3 separate regions of the Homo sapiens genome follow, and regions 1 and 3 are each linked to region 2. Evidence: promoter capture Hi-C in 16 types of primary human blood cells and fetal thymus (Javierre and others, 2016). All regions are on one chromosome and are shown on one strand. The core of a region is centred on a gene start or on the middle of the fragment in contact, and the rest is flanking DNA. Distances in the headings are between cores, read along the strand shown.

Region 1 (4,487 bases), core at 1,247-3,746, 580 kb after region 2:
ATCTGGGAGAAACGCGGCGCTGCCGCTGCAGAGCTGCCTAGAAAGGGCTCCAGGCCATGGCACAGTCACTGCGAGAGGAAGAGACAGGAGGCCTGGCGGCCCGGCTGTCAGCGCAGTCGCCATCTTAAGGCTGAAGGGGGCTGAGGCCAACCTGGGCAAGGAGAACTTGGGGCGCACATTGTGGAGCTGACTGCGAAGAGGCCTGAGTCCCGCCACAGTCACTTCCCACCAGTTCCACCCTGCCCCTCTTCCTGTCTCGGGATGTCGGCCGGGCACTCTCACCATTTCTATGCTTCCAGGGTGTCCTGGGGTTTTAGCTGTGGATCTCCCAATACCTGCAGGTCACAGGGCCACAGAGGCTGGGCCTCCAGGAGAATAGGACACAGACCAGTGAAGACGAGACCTGAAACGCCGGCTGCAGCTAGAGACAAAGGCCGCGCCAAAAGCGGAAAGCCGTCCTCGTCGCTCCAGCTGCGTGCCTGATTGGACGGTTTCCAGCCCAGCGTCTCTGATTGGATAATGCTTTAGGTCCCGCCCCTCAGGCCCTGAGTGACAGAAGATGTGATCAGATGCTGGGCTAAGTGAAGAGAGACAGCCTAAGCTGCAGCCTTTACAGGCAGGGCTTCCTTCCTGAGCTGACCCAGGCCCCCCCCAGAGCATGAGAAAATTCTCTTTTGTACTCACTCTCCTTTTGAATGTATTCAAAAGGTGAACAGAAGTATTTTGCTGGCATATTAATAATACATAAAATTTTTGTTCAAGAGAAAATCAACGTTTACTTTGTTAGTAGTGTATTATCAATACTAAAGCTAATGTTTTTTTTTTTTTTTTTGAGACGGAGTCTCGCTTTGTCACCCAGGCTGGAGTGCAGTGGCGGGGTCTCGCTCACCCGATTTTCCTGCCTCAGCCTCCTGAGTAGCTGGGATTACAGCTACTATTGTTGAAAAACAATAGACAATCACAAAAACAAGCTGACCTTTTTGTGTTCCTTAAGCCCTGTCCTGAAGAGCCCTGTGACTGGGCTTTATGCCAAACAACTCGTTACTAAAGAGCTGTGGTCCCAGACTGCACCGAAGCTTCATGAGACCTCTCCTCGTCTGTGCACGGACGAGTGGCCAACTCTGGAGCCCAGGCTGTTGCTTCCCTGTCTGGTGGTGAATCCTCCACAGTCTGATGAGGGTGGTGTCTGACTCTGGAGCTCAGGCTGTTGCTTCTTGGTCTGGTGGTGAGTCCTTCATAGTCTGGTGAGTGCGGGTGTCCCACTCTGGAACCCATGCTGTTGCTTCCTGGCCTGGTGGAGAATCTTCCAGCCTGGAGAGTGCGGTGTCTGACTCTGGAGCCCAAGGCTGGAAACTTGGGGACGTCCCAAATCCCGGAATGGAAACTCCCCCAGTTCTCCCCCTTGGCGTGCCCTATCTGGTGAGTTTCGGGGGAACTCATGACCCAAGTCATAATAGGAATTTCAAGCCTCATAAAGACATCATGGTTGAAGCAGAGGTGTTTCGTTTCCAGCAAAGCCCAATAGCAAGCTAACAATTGCTCCTCGAAAGGGTTATAAGCTTTGCTGGCCTCTGGCAGTTTCTGGGTCCAAAACCAGAAATGTACCTCTTCCCATCTTGTTTCTGCCTAAGGCTCCAATTAGCATGTTGATCTAGGACAGTTACTTGCAGTTCTACGGGACCATCCCAAATGGGTCATAGATCCAGGGCCAGTTGCACTGCTTGTTTATCTTGTTCGGAAGCCATGATCTCTTTCTCTCCCCAAAGTCATAGCGTTTTCTGGTGGCTGCATGCAGAGGTTGTAACATGTTACCCAAGTGGGGAATATGATGTCTCCAGAATCCAAACAAGCCAATAAATTTCTGAGCCTCATTTTTAGTGGTAGGGGTTGCAAATTCTAGTATTTTAGGCTTAGCCTTTGGTAAAATGAATTATTTCCCTGCATTTCATAGGATGCAACCAGCCCCTATCTTGACACATTATCTTATAAGCAGTAAGGAAACACCATCCACTCTGGGAGATCCCCTCAGCGTCTCCTTTGCTGACTGGAATTCCCTGCAGCACTTCACGCACAAAGGTCTAAATTGCACTAATTTAGATTCCCAATTCTTACAAAGTCCGGTTCCCCTTGACCATTCAATTGCCAAGGGAGAGAACTGGGGGAGTTTCCATCCGGGGATATGGGAAGTCCTCGAGCCTCCCGCCCTGCCCTTGTTGCTAAAAAGTGGCACACTTTTGTTTTTGAATCCTGTTTGTGACACCAAAAGTGTTCTGTGCGGGAAACGCACGAGGGGGAGAAGGAAAGACACACACACAATACCTTTAAGGGTAAACAAGCTTCATTCCACGTAAATAGCAATGCAGATATAATAAGCAAATTATGTAATAAGCAAATCAATATAATAAGCAGATTGATATAACAAGTAGATTGATATAATAAGCAAATTGCAATGGGAAGAGGAGAAAGGAAAAAATATATATATATTTACACTCACCAGACTATGGAGGATTCACTACCAGAGTGGGAAGCAACAGCCTGGGCTCTAGCATCGGACATTGCACTCACCAGACAGTGGAGGCCTCACCACCAGATGGGAAGCAACAGCTTGGGCTCCAGAGTCGGCCGCTCATTCCTGCACAGATGAGAAGAGGTCTCATGAAGCTTCAGCCCAGTCTGGTATCCTAGCTCTTTTGTAACTAGTTGTTTCGCATGAGGCCTAGTCACGAGGGCCTTTCATGACCCGGCACGAGGAACATAAAAATGTCAACTTGTTTTTGCGATTGCCTATTGTTTTTCAATAACTAATGCATAGGAATAGATTGAAATAGAGATTTCTCCAAAACAGCACTGAATGAACGCTTGAAGGGGCTCACACAACCTGTTCTGGGACTCGGTGACCATTGTTTGTGTCCACGTTCAATTGAGTTCAAATTTATTATTTAACTTTTCCTCCACAAATTCGCCTGTCTTGATGAATCAGCTCTGTCTAGGCAAAGGGCAAGGTGAACCTCTTGGGCCTTACACAACCTCCACCTCCTGGGTTCAAGCGATTCTTCTGTTTCGGTCTCCAGAGTAGCTGGCACTACAAAAGTGCACCACCACAACCTGCTAATTTTTTGTATTTTTAGTAGAGATGGAGTTTCACCATGTTGGCCAGGCTAGTCTTGAACTCCTGACCTCAAGTGATCCACCCACCTAGGCCTCCCAAAGTTCTGGGATTACAGGCGTGAGCCACTGAGGTTATCACTAAATGATATCTTTTTGTTTCCTATAACAATGTGAAATTACTTAAAGGTGGTTTCAAATTGAAAAAATAAAAAGAATGCAGATAAAAATAAAATATAAAAAGTTCAAAAAATTACAAGAGATTACAAAATATACATGTATATCTTGAGAGGTCAAAAATGACAAATTTTGTTTATTTACAAGGTTGTATTTATTTATTTATTTATATTTTTATTTTTTGAGACAAAATATTGCTCTGTTGCCCACGATGGAGTGCAGCGGTGCGATCTTGGCTCACCGCAACCTCCACCTCACGGGTTCAAGCGATTCTCTTGCCTCAGCTTCCCTAGTAGCTGGGACCACAGGCTCATACCAGGAGGCCCGGCTAATTTTTTTTATGTTTAGTAGAGACGGGGTTTCACTGTATTAGCCAGGATGGTCTCGATTTCCTGAACTCCTGATCCGACCGCCTCAGCCTTCCAAAGGGCCAGGATTATAGGTGTGAGCCACTGCACCAGCTTTATAAGGTTTTATTAAAATTGGCTTTAGTGTTGATAATACACTATTAACAAGTAAAAGTTGATTTTCTCTTGAACAAAAATTTTATGTATTATTAATATGACAGCACAATACTTCCGTTCATCTTTTGAATACATTCAAAAAGAGAGACAATGAAAAGAGATAGAATTTTCCCATGCTCTGGAATGGGCCTGGCTCAGCTCAGGTAGGAAGCCCTGTTTGAAAAGGCTGCAGCTAGGCCAGGCCCAGCGGTTCACGCCTTTAATCCCAGGAGTTTGGGAGGCCGAGGTGGGTGGATCACCTGAGGTCGGTAGTTCGAGTCCAGGCTGACCAACATGGAGAAACCCTGTCTTTACTAAAAATACAAAAAATTAACCAGGCATGGTGCCACATGCCTGTAATCCCAGCTACTTGGGAGGATGAGATCTATTATATCTCACAGGGTTTACAATTTCTCTTTTCTCCTATTATAAATTTATGAGGCCAGCGGCTGGGCATGGTGACTCATGCCTGTAATCCCAGCACTTTGGGAGGCTGAGGTGGGCAGATCACTTGAGGTCAGAAGTTCAAGACCAGCCTGGACAATATGGTGAAGCCCCATCTCTACTAAAAAAATACAAAAAAATTAGCTGGGCATTGTGGCGTGTGCCTGTAATCCCAGCTACTCAGGAGGCTGAGGCAGGAGAATTGCTTGAACCTGGGAGGTGGAGGTTGCAGTGAGCCAAGATCGTGCCACTGCACTC
Region 2 (4,798 bases), core at 1,654-4,153:
GCAGGACTCTGTCTCAAAATAAAAAGGCTGGGTGCAGTGGCTCACACCTGTAATCCCAGCACTTTGGGAGGCTGAGGCAGGGGGGATCACGAGGTCAGGAGTTTGAGACCAGCCTGGCCAATATGGTGAAACCCCGTCTCTACTAAAAATATAAAAATTAGCTGGGCATAGTGGCAGGCACCTGTAGTCTCAGCTACTCGGGAGGCTGAGGCAGAACAATCACTTGAACCTGGGAGGCGGAGGTTGCAGTGAGCCGAGATTGTGCCACTGCACTCCAGCCTGGGCAACAGAGCCAGACTCCATCTCAAAAACAAACAAACAAACAAACAAAAAAACCCCAAAAAACAAAACAAAAACAAAAACAACAACAAAAAAAGCTGGGAAGCTGGGTGCACAGACAGCACCTAATGCCCAGGGCTCTGCTCTGCTGAAGGTGACATGAACTCAAATAGGAAGAACGCTGCCAGGCACCCACCCAGTACGTCCTCAATTCACGTGAGCCAAGCCCCCGCCCCATCACAGGCCCCCGGCCTCCTGCTCAGCTCTGCCTCTTCCACCAACCCTGCTCACTACACTCCACAGCTCCACACGCACATGGGGCTCGATCGTGCCTCAGCAAAGGGCCTTGGCATGTGCTGTTTTCTCTGCCCGGAATACACAGTCACACAGCTCCCTTGCTGCCTCAGGCTTTTGCTGAAACATCACCTTCTCAGGAGCCCCTCCCTGGCTGCCCCATCTAAAGTTCCCGGCAATGTCCCATCCTGTCCTGATGTTAGATGTCATCTCTGTTTGGCATCAACTGCTGACTATGAGTTCTCCCTCCCAGTAACACCACAAAGGCAGGGGGATTTGCCTGTTTTGTTCACTGCTGTTTCCCCAGCACCTAAGACACAGAAATGTTGAATGGAACTCGTTCAGTGCTCCCTGGACCCCGTGAACCGCCATCCATTCCTCTGCTGCTCTGCTAGACCGAGCTGCATGGAGACGAGCTGCATGGAGATGGGGGGAGCACAATGATGACCCGCAGAAACAAAGCGCCACCGCACGGGTGGTTCATGGGCCTCCAAAGCAGGCAGCAAATAACAACAATCACATAACTACAAACGTGACGTCACGGAAGAAAGGTACAAGAGGCTATACGCTGTGATGGCCCCAGGGCGGGCACTCTGCAGATATCATCTCCGCTTCTCAAGATGGCACCCAGTAGTTGTTAGTTACGGTTCTCAGTTTACAGAAGGGGGAAACTGAAACTCAGAGAGCAGAAGCGGCCCTTTCTGAGATCTGAATCAAACCCAGATCCACCTCTCCTGGCTGATGGCTGTTCAGCTCCTCCCACTTCTCCATCCCTGGAGAGGAAGTTAAGAGCTAAGCTGCTTAGCTGCAGGTCAAAAGGCAGCTGAAGTTTGAGCGGTGCCACAGTCCCCTTAACCCCTCCTTTATTTTGTCCCTCATTGGTGTCTTTCATTGTACTACCTCAAAGCTACCACGTTGAGCTCCTCCCCTGGGATAGATAAGTCTTTTTGAAGGACAGAACAGGTTGTCTCTCAGGAGAGGAGAATGAGGATTCTACCCACATTCAGAGCCAGCCAGGGTGGGGGGCTTCTGTCTTTCTGTAGCCCTTGATGCTGTTCCCTTTTCCTCTTCTTGAGGCAAACACACTCCTGGAATCAGAGGGGAAGCTTCCTGATATACCTCAGTGTCCATGGCTCCAAACCTGCTGGTGTCACCTGAGGCAGGCCCAGAGAGAGACGACACAGTCACTGCTTCAGGCCCAGGGAAGCTCACAGTCACCAACTCCTCCGACGACACTTGGTCACTCAGAACTCTAAACTGTGGGTCAGGAGCGCGACCTTGCTTGCTGTTGTATCCCCGACAGAACTCAGTATCACCACCCTCATTTTGCGGAAAGACATCATGTAAATGACTCGCTCATAAACACCTCTGCCTCTCTTCAACACTGTAATTAACTGCATTTCATGCTCCTTTCCATCACAGTATGGAAGACCACTAAGCACTGGACAGCAAGACTTGGTTCAGTCTAAGAACCAACTAAGCTTCATAGATGGGGGAAACCTATCCCAGTGATCTCGCCTTACACTTTGAAAACCAAGGTAGGAGACAGATGAGATGGAAGGTAGGGCCGTTTCCAGAACAAGAGTAGTCGCTAATATGGGAACTAGTATAAACAACTCCTACCTGACCTGGGCGACGTATGCTGGGCCCTGCGCTAAGCCTTTTACAAGTATTACATCACTGAATCTAAATGACCATAACAGGGAGGACTTCAGAAAAAGGAAATAACCCGCACCAGGCATGCACAGCAAGTCAGCAGTGGGGTCATGATTAAGCCTGCGCCAAAGTGTAGAGGGTGCCCCTGGGAATCCAGGCCAGGCAGATGAGTGGCCCAGGTCGCGATGGTGACCGACAGGAAGGCCGCAGCTGGGACCCACGGCGAGGCTCGACCGTGCTGGGGGTCGGGCTCGCGTGTACACACTTACCGGGGTGCAGGTGAGCGCGCAATGCGCGTGCACAGACCAATGCCCCGAGAGGACAGTGAGCGCGTGCGCGAGGCAGATGGTGGCAAGCACGAGCAGCGCAGCTTCGGGGATCTGCACCCAACTGCTGCCCCAGCCCCAGCAGCCAGCGGCTGCGGCACCCAACCAGGCCGGGTAAAGCAGCCCGGCGAATGGCAGCACCGTGAGGCGCCGCAACAGCGCCAACCGCCGGTACGGCCACACGGCAGCCACCAGCTCGTCACCGTTCGCTATGAGCGCCGGCCCGGCGGCAAGGAGCGCGCGCGGCTGCGGCCCGGGCTTGGGCTGCCCGTCAGGCCGGACCCCGCAAGGCCGGGCCCCGCAGGGCACCGCGTTGCCCACCGCCGCCGCTGCCGCCATCTTTCCTAGCGCCGCGCTCACTTCCGGGCAGAGGAACGCCTCACTTCCGAAGTTTTACTTCCGGTAAGCCCTGAGCGCCGCCATGGCAGCCTGGACTAGGAAGAGCCAGGGCAACAGAACAGGCTGGCCCCGGCAGGGACTACTTCGGGTGCCGCCATGACAGGCTGTGGCCGGAAGAAGAGGCTGGGCGTCGCCATGACAGAGAGGGACTGGAAGACCTAACGGTGCCTGCCTCCGCTGCCACGCCGGACTGAGACCGGAAAAGACAAGGCCGGCAAGGCGGGCTTGGGCGCCACCATGACAACCTGAACCAAAAAAAGCGAGCCCTCCTCCTTGACTACACCAGCACCACCTGTCACCAGGGGCGAAGCCTGGACCCTGCGGAGGCGGGGTCGGGAGCTTCGGAGTTCAGGAGGCGGGGCCCGGTGCGGGGGGCGGGGCTTGTGAGGGGCGGGGTCGGGGACCGCCCCGGAACACAACCACACCGGACAAGAGCCTTAATGTGATAGATAAGAATTACAAATACTAGCCGGGCGCGGTGGCTCACGCCTGTAATCCCAACACTTTGGGAGGCGAGGCGGGTGGATCACCTGAGATCAGGAGTTCAAGACCCAACATGGTGAAACCACGTCTCTACTAAAAATACAAAAATTAGCCGGGCGTGGTGGCACATGCCTGTAATCCCAGCTACTCGGGAGGATGAGGCAGGAGAATTGCTTGAGCCCGGGAGACGGAGGTTGCAGTGAGCCAAGATTGCTCCACTGCACTTCAGCCTGGCCAACAGAGCAAGACTGTCTCAAAAAAAAAAAAAAGAAAAATGAATTACAAAAACCACTTTAGGCCGGGCGCGGTGGCTCACGCCTGTAATCCCAGCACTTTGGGAGGCCGAGGTCAGGAGATCGAGACCATCCTGGCTAACGCGGTGAAACCCCGTCTCCACTAAAAATACAAAAAAAAAAAAAAAATTCTCCGGGCGTGGTGGCGGGCGCCTGTAGTCCCAGCTACTCCGGAGCCTGAGGCAGAATGGCGCGAACTGGAGAGGCAGAGCTTGCAGTGAGCGGAGATTGTGCCACTGCCCTCCAGCCTGGGCGACAGAGCGAGACTCTGTCTCCAAAAAAAAAAAAAAAAAAAAAAAGAAATTACCACTTTAACATAAAAAATGAAAAACTGGTGTTTACTTGAAATTATATACTTCTAGGCCGGGCGCGGTGGCTCACCCCTGTAATTCCAGCACTTTGGGAGGCCGAGGCGGGCGGATCACGAGTTCAGGAGATCGAGACCGTCCTGGCTAACACAGTGAAACCCCGTCTCTACTAAAAATACAAAAAATTAGCCGGGCGTGGTTGCAGGCGCCTGTAGTCCCAGCTACTCGGGAGGCTGAGGCAGGAGAATGGCCTGAACCTGGGAGGCGGAGCTTGCAGTGAGCCGAGATCGCGCCACTGCACTCCAGCCTGGGCGACAGAGCGAGACTCTGTCTGAAAAAAAAAAAAAAAAGAAATTATATAGTTCTATATTATTAACTGTACTGTTGCATAAATGCTATTTGAACAAAACCACAATAGGACTACTTAACAGTACCAATTAGTAGGATTAAACAGTATGTGTGACAAACAGTAACTATTTTATGTTTCTTTTTGTCCTCTGATACAGCAAATTTATTTAAACTTAAAATTTATTGGATATTTAAATTTTGTAGCTTATATTGTTGCATATTCTTTTTTTAATTTTTCGAGATGAAGTCTCACTCTGTCGCCCAGGCTGGAGTGCAGTGGCGCGATGTCCGCTCACTGCAAACTCCACTTTCCGAGTTCAATCGATTCTCCCATTTCAGCCTCCCAAGTAACTGGGATTACAGGCGCATGCCACCGCTCCGGCTAATTTTTGTACTTTTTTTTTTAGACGGA
Region 3 (4,231 bases), core at 1,732-4,231, 1.0 Mb after region 2:
TCACCTGAGTTCAGGAGTTTAAGACCAGCCTGACCAACATGGAGAAACCCCTCTCTACTAAAAATACAAAATTAGCTAGGTGTGGTGGCATGCGACTCTAATCCCAGCTACATAGGAGGCTGAGGCAGGAGAATTGCTTGAATCCAGGAGGCGAAGGTTGCGGTGAGCCGAGGTGGCACAATTGCACTCCAGCCTGGGCAACAAGAACAAAAATCCATCTCAAAAAAACAAAACAAAAAACAAACAAAAAAAAGAAAATTAATGCAGAAACAGAAAACCAAATGCATGTTATTATTTATAAGTAAGAGCTAAGTAATAAGAACACATGAACACAAACAGAACAGACACTGAGGCCTAGTTGAGGGGGGAGGGTGGGAGCAGTAAGAGGATCAGAAAACATACCTGTTCGGTGGTATGCTTAGTACCTCAGTGACAAAATAATCTGCACTTCAAACCCCCATGACGTAATTTTAGTTGTATAACAAACCCACATGTGTACACCCAACCAAAAATCAAAGCTAAAAAAAGAAAAAAAAAAAATCCCTGCGTGGGAGAGAGTGCAATGTAGGTGAATGGACTGATTTTCATTACAGATAGTGGCCCAGGTGGGGCTGTTTTCTGATTTATCTTTGTTTGCATGCAGACAGATGAGATTATAACCGGGAGGTCCAGAACCTTAGGTTGGTGGAAAAAACAGGTTGGTGCGGCAGATTCTGTATCTAGGGGTGGGGATATGCCAGGAGACCTGTAGAGACTTTTGGGTTCTTGGCAAGAAACGCTAGGATCAAAAATGCCATGGTGAAGTTCCTGAGGGTGGTGCCCAGTACTGGGAGGAGTGAGGACATGTCAATGTCTACTGTGTGTGTTTAGGAGTGGGTGGGAATCCTGTGGTGGCAGCTACAAGAAAACAGGGTCTGTCATCAGAACTCTTTCCTCTAAGTTTTCAGTCTTCTGTCACCCTGGAAGAAGACCTTAAATCACAGGACAACAGGCAGTGTGACAGCCTGTGTACAGGAGAGCAGAGCCTCCCATTTTCAAATACCCAGAGCTTTGTTCCAGGTCTGGCCCCAGTGATATCTTTTTTCTGGCACCAAATCTATAGAGTTTGCTGAATATCAAACAATTCTCCAACACCAACTCATTGCCTAATAATTGAATTCTGACACCACCTAGAGACAGCACAGACCCTGATCCAGGGCTGGGTCCCACAACATTGTCCTCACTGCAGAGGCCAATCAAAAACCCCATAGGCCCATCTATGCTTCTGAGCTACTGTTTGAAAACTGAGGACTCCCAAAACCTCCCTGAAGTTCAATAATTTGGTACAGCTACTTACAGAACTCAGCAAAACATTGTAGTTATGTTTACCGGTTTCATATAAAAGATGCAGCCCAGGAAAAGCCAAATGGAAGAAATGCATAGAACAAAGAGATGGGGAAAGATGAAACACATAGAAAATCCTGGAAAATATTTGTGATTAATAAAATTCTCCACCTTTTGTGTGCTCCAGGAACAGTATACGGAAAGAAACGCCTTTCTCATTATGACTTAGATGGTGCTCTCTTTTCTTACCTATCACACAGCCAGACACACACTCTGTACATTTTCTCCTTTTTCTCATTAAGAAATTCAGCTGAATTTGTCTTCAGTGGTCAAAATAATTTTTTTTTTTTGAGATGGAGTCTCGCTCGGCCACCCAGGCTGGAGTGCCTTGGCACCGTCTCAGCTCACTGCAACCTCTGTCTCCATGGTTCAAGCAATTCTCCTGCCTCAGCCTCCCAAGTAGCTGGCATTACAGGTGGCCACCACAACTACCAGCTAATTTTTGTATTTTTAGTAGACACAGGGTTATCACCATGTTGACCAGGCTGGTCTCAAGCTCCTGACTTGCGGTGATCCGTCCGCCTAGGCCTCCCAAACTGCTGGGATTACATGCCTGAGCCATGGCGCTCAGCCTAAAATATTTCTTAATCAAACTTTACTTAAGTTTATCTCCATCCCTCAGGCTAGTGAGGGATGGAGATAAGCCATCTCCAATGTAGGAGAAAAGCCCTTTTCTGCCTACATTTTTGCAACCCATGAAGATTTTTTAGTTAGCTGGTACTTCTTCCTGTTGCAATACTTCTTAGGAATTCATTTTTTTTTTACATAAATCTAATATTCTTATTTTAGAAAGCGTAAAAAGTGCCTCAAAACCATAACAACTTCATTACCAGTAAGACCCTCCCAGTTTCCTTTCATCTTAATCTTGACTGCATCTGCCTGTGGGGCCCCAGCTTTCCAAGGCTTTGTAGCTTCTTTCAGAATGAAGGCTCCTTCCGTGGCTGGGGTGAGCAGTCTTGAGATATCCGCAAGGGAGACTCCCCAGAAAAAAATAACAGGGCCTTTAATAACCTCCTGTTGGCCGGGTGCGGTGGCTCACACCGATAATGCCAGCACTTTGGGAGGCCGAAGCGGGTCTGAGGCAGAGAGTTCAAGACCAGCCTGACAAACATGGAGAAAACCCGTCTCTACTAAACACCAAAATTAGCCGGGCGTGATGGTGCATGCCTGTAATCCCAGCTACTGGTGGGGCTGAGGTAGGAGAATCGCTTGAACCCAGTAAGCCGAGATCACGCCATTACATTCCAGCCTGGGCACCACAAGCGACACTGTGTCTAAAAAAAAAAAAAAAAAAAAAAAAATACCCTGTTGCAGGCTTAATATTAGCCTTAGCTTGGAGTCACTAGGTTCAAGCTTTAATGTCCACATCAGTTATTCACTTGGTTTTTGAAACTAAGTGTTAGAAACTCCAGTGAAATTACTCACAATGTTTACATAAAGGAATTTTTAAGATGCTTACTTTTTTTTTCTTTTTTTTGAGCCGGAGTCTCGCTTTGTCACGCAGGCTGGAGCGCGATGATTGGATCTCAGCTCACTGCAACTTCCGCCTCCCGGGTTCAAGCAATTCTCGTGCCTCAGCCTCCCAAGTGGCTGGTACTACAGGCACGTGCCAACACGCCGATAGTTTTCGTATTTTTAGTAGAGACGGGTTTCACCACGTTGGCCAGGCTGGTCTAGAACTCCTGACCACGTGATCCACCTGCCTCGGCCTCCGAAGTGCTGGGATTACAGGCTTGAGCCACCGCGCCCAGCAAGAAAGGGGTTTTGAACCCTAATGCAGTTCCTGTTTTTGTTTCCATCCCCTATTGGCTGGGATCAGACCGCACAATCTAAGCTGATCCTGGTAAGCTTAGACCCAAACTTTTTCCAAATAAAGTAAATGCGCGATTTGCGAGAAAAGGAAAAGGGGGTAGAAGAAGAGGTAGGGTTGATTTACAACTTTTACAACTTATGACCAGAAAGTTGAGTCATTTAAAAGGAACTTAGTTGTCCTAACACCTCTTTACCTCAAGTGATCCGCCCGCCTCGGCCTCCCAAAACGTTGGGATTACAGGCGTGAGCCACAGCGTCCGGCCCCATACATTTTTAATAGGAGAAAAGAGAAACTGTAAACCCAAAGGAACAAAGCTCTTCCCATTCATGAACCCGCACCCCGAGTCAGGATTCTCCCCTGCCCACCCTCCCCTGGTCCCTGCACAATCTGGGAGAGACGCCACGCTGCGGGTGCAGAGCTGCCCAGAGAGGGCTCCAGGCCAGGGTAGTCACCGCGCAGTGAAGAGACAAGACGCCCGGGTGCCGGCTGTCAGCGCAGCTGCCATTTTATGGCTGAACAGGACTGAGGCCGAGCTGAGCAAGGAGAACTGGGGGAGCAGACTGTGGAGCTGACTGCGGGGAGGCCTGAGTCCCGCCACAGCCACTTTTCACCGGTTCCAACCAGTCCCTCTCCTCTCTCGGGATGTCGGACCCTCACTCTCACCATTTTTGGCTTCCAGGAGGTCCCGGTGTCTTAGCTGTGGATCTCCCAATACCTGCAGGACACGGGGCCACACAGCCTGGGCCTTTAGGAGAAGAACCAGACCTGGAGCTCTGACTGCAGCGAGAGACAAAGGCCGCACCAAACCCGGAAACCGTCCTCTTCGCTCCAGCTGCGTTCCTGATTGGATGGTTTCCAGCCCACCATCCCTGATTGGATAATGCTTAAGGCCCCGCCCCCTGAGGCCCTGAGTGACAGTAGATGTGATCAGACGCTGAGCTGAGTGAAGAAAGAGTGACAGCCTAAGCTGCAGCCTTTTCAGGCAGGGCTTCCTTCCTGAGCTGAGCCAGGCCCACCCCAGAGCATGGGAGAATT

The links. Contacts are between HindIII fragments. The CHiCAGO score rates a contact against its expected background, and 5 or more counts as called.
Region 1: a fragment that was not itself captured here is called in contact with the fragment with the promoter of ATP13A1 in region 2 in 2 of 17 cell types (total CD8 T cells and fetal thymus); the score reaches 5.5 in total CD8 T cells.
Region 3: a fragment that was not itself captured here is called in contact with the fragment with the promoter of ATP13A1 in region 2 in 1 of 17 cell types (total CD8 T cells); the score reaches 6.5 in total CD8 T cells.

The regions. Positions count from the first base shown.
Region 1 is chr19:20,238,006-20,242,492 of GRCh38, forward strand. LOC105372310 (a long non-coding RNA gene) reads right to left here. Exons shown (of 7, transcript XR_007067164.1): 2 at 2,495-2,632; 3 at 977-1,785; 4 at 283-545. Among named protein-coding and RNA genes, the nearest start is that of ZNF486, 73 kb to the left of the region's middle. RefSeq lists enhancers at 1-190, 702-1,220. The HindIII fragment of the contact is 325 bases long and covers 2,335-2,659 here.
Region 2 is chr19:19,660,773-19,665,570 of GRCh38, forward strand. It overlaps ATP13A1 (ATPase 13A1), which reads right to left and starts at 2,904. Exons shown (of 26, transcript NM_020410.3): 1 at 2,499-2,904. The coding sequence starts at 2,894. RefSeq lists enhancers at 650-1,297, 2,071-2,120, 2,252-3,234, 2,506-2,607, 2,951-3,240 and 1 more and silencers at 2,641-2,900, 3,341-3,390. The HindIII fragment of the contact is 4,289 bases long and covers 2,053-4,798 here.
Region 3 is chr19:20,657,585-20,661,815 of GRCh38, forward strand. ZNF626 (zinc finger protein 626) reads right to left here and starts at 3,987. Exons shown (of 4, transcript NM_001076675.3): 1 at 3,860-3,987. The coding sequence starts at 3,862. RefSeq lists a silencer at 4,112-4,181. The HindIII fragment of the contact is 495 bases long and covers 2,735-3,229 here.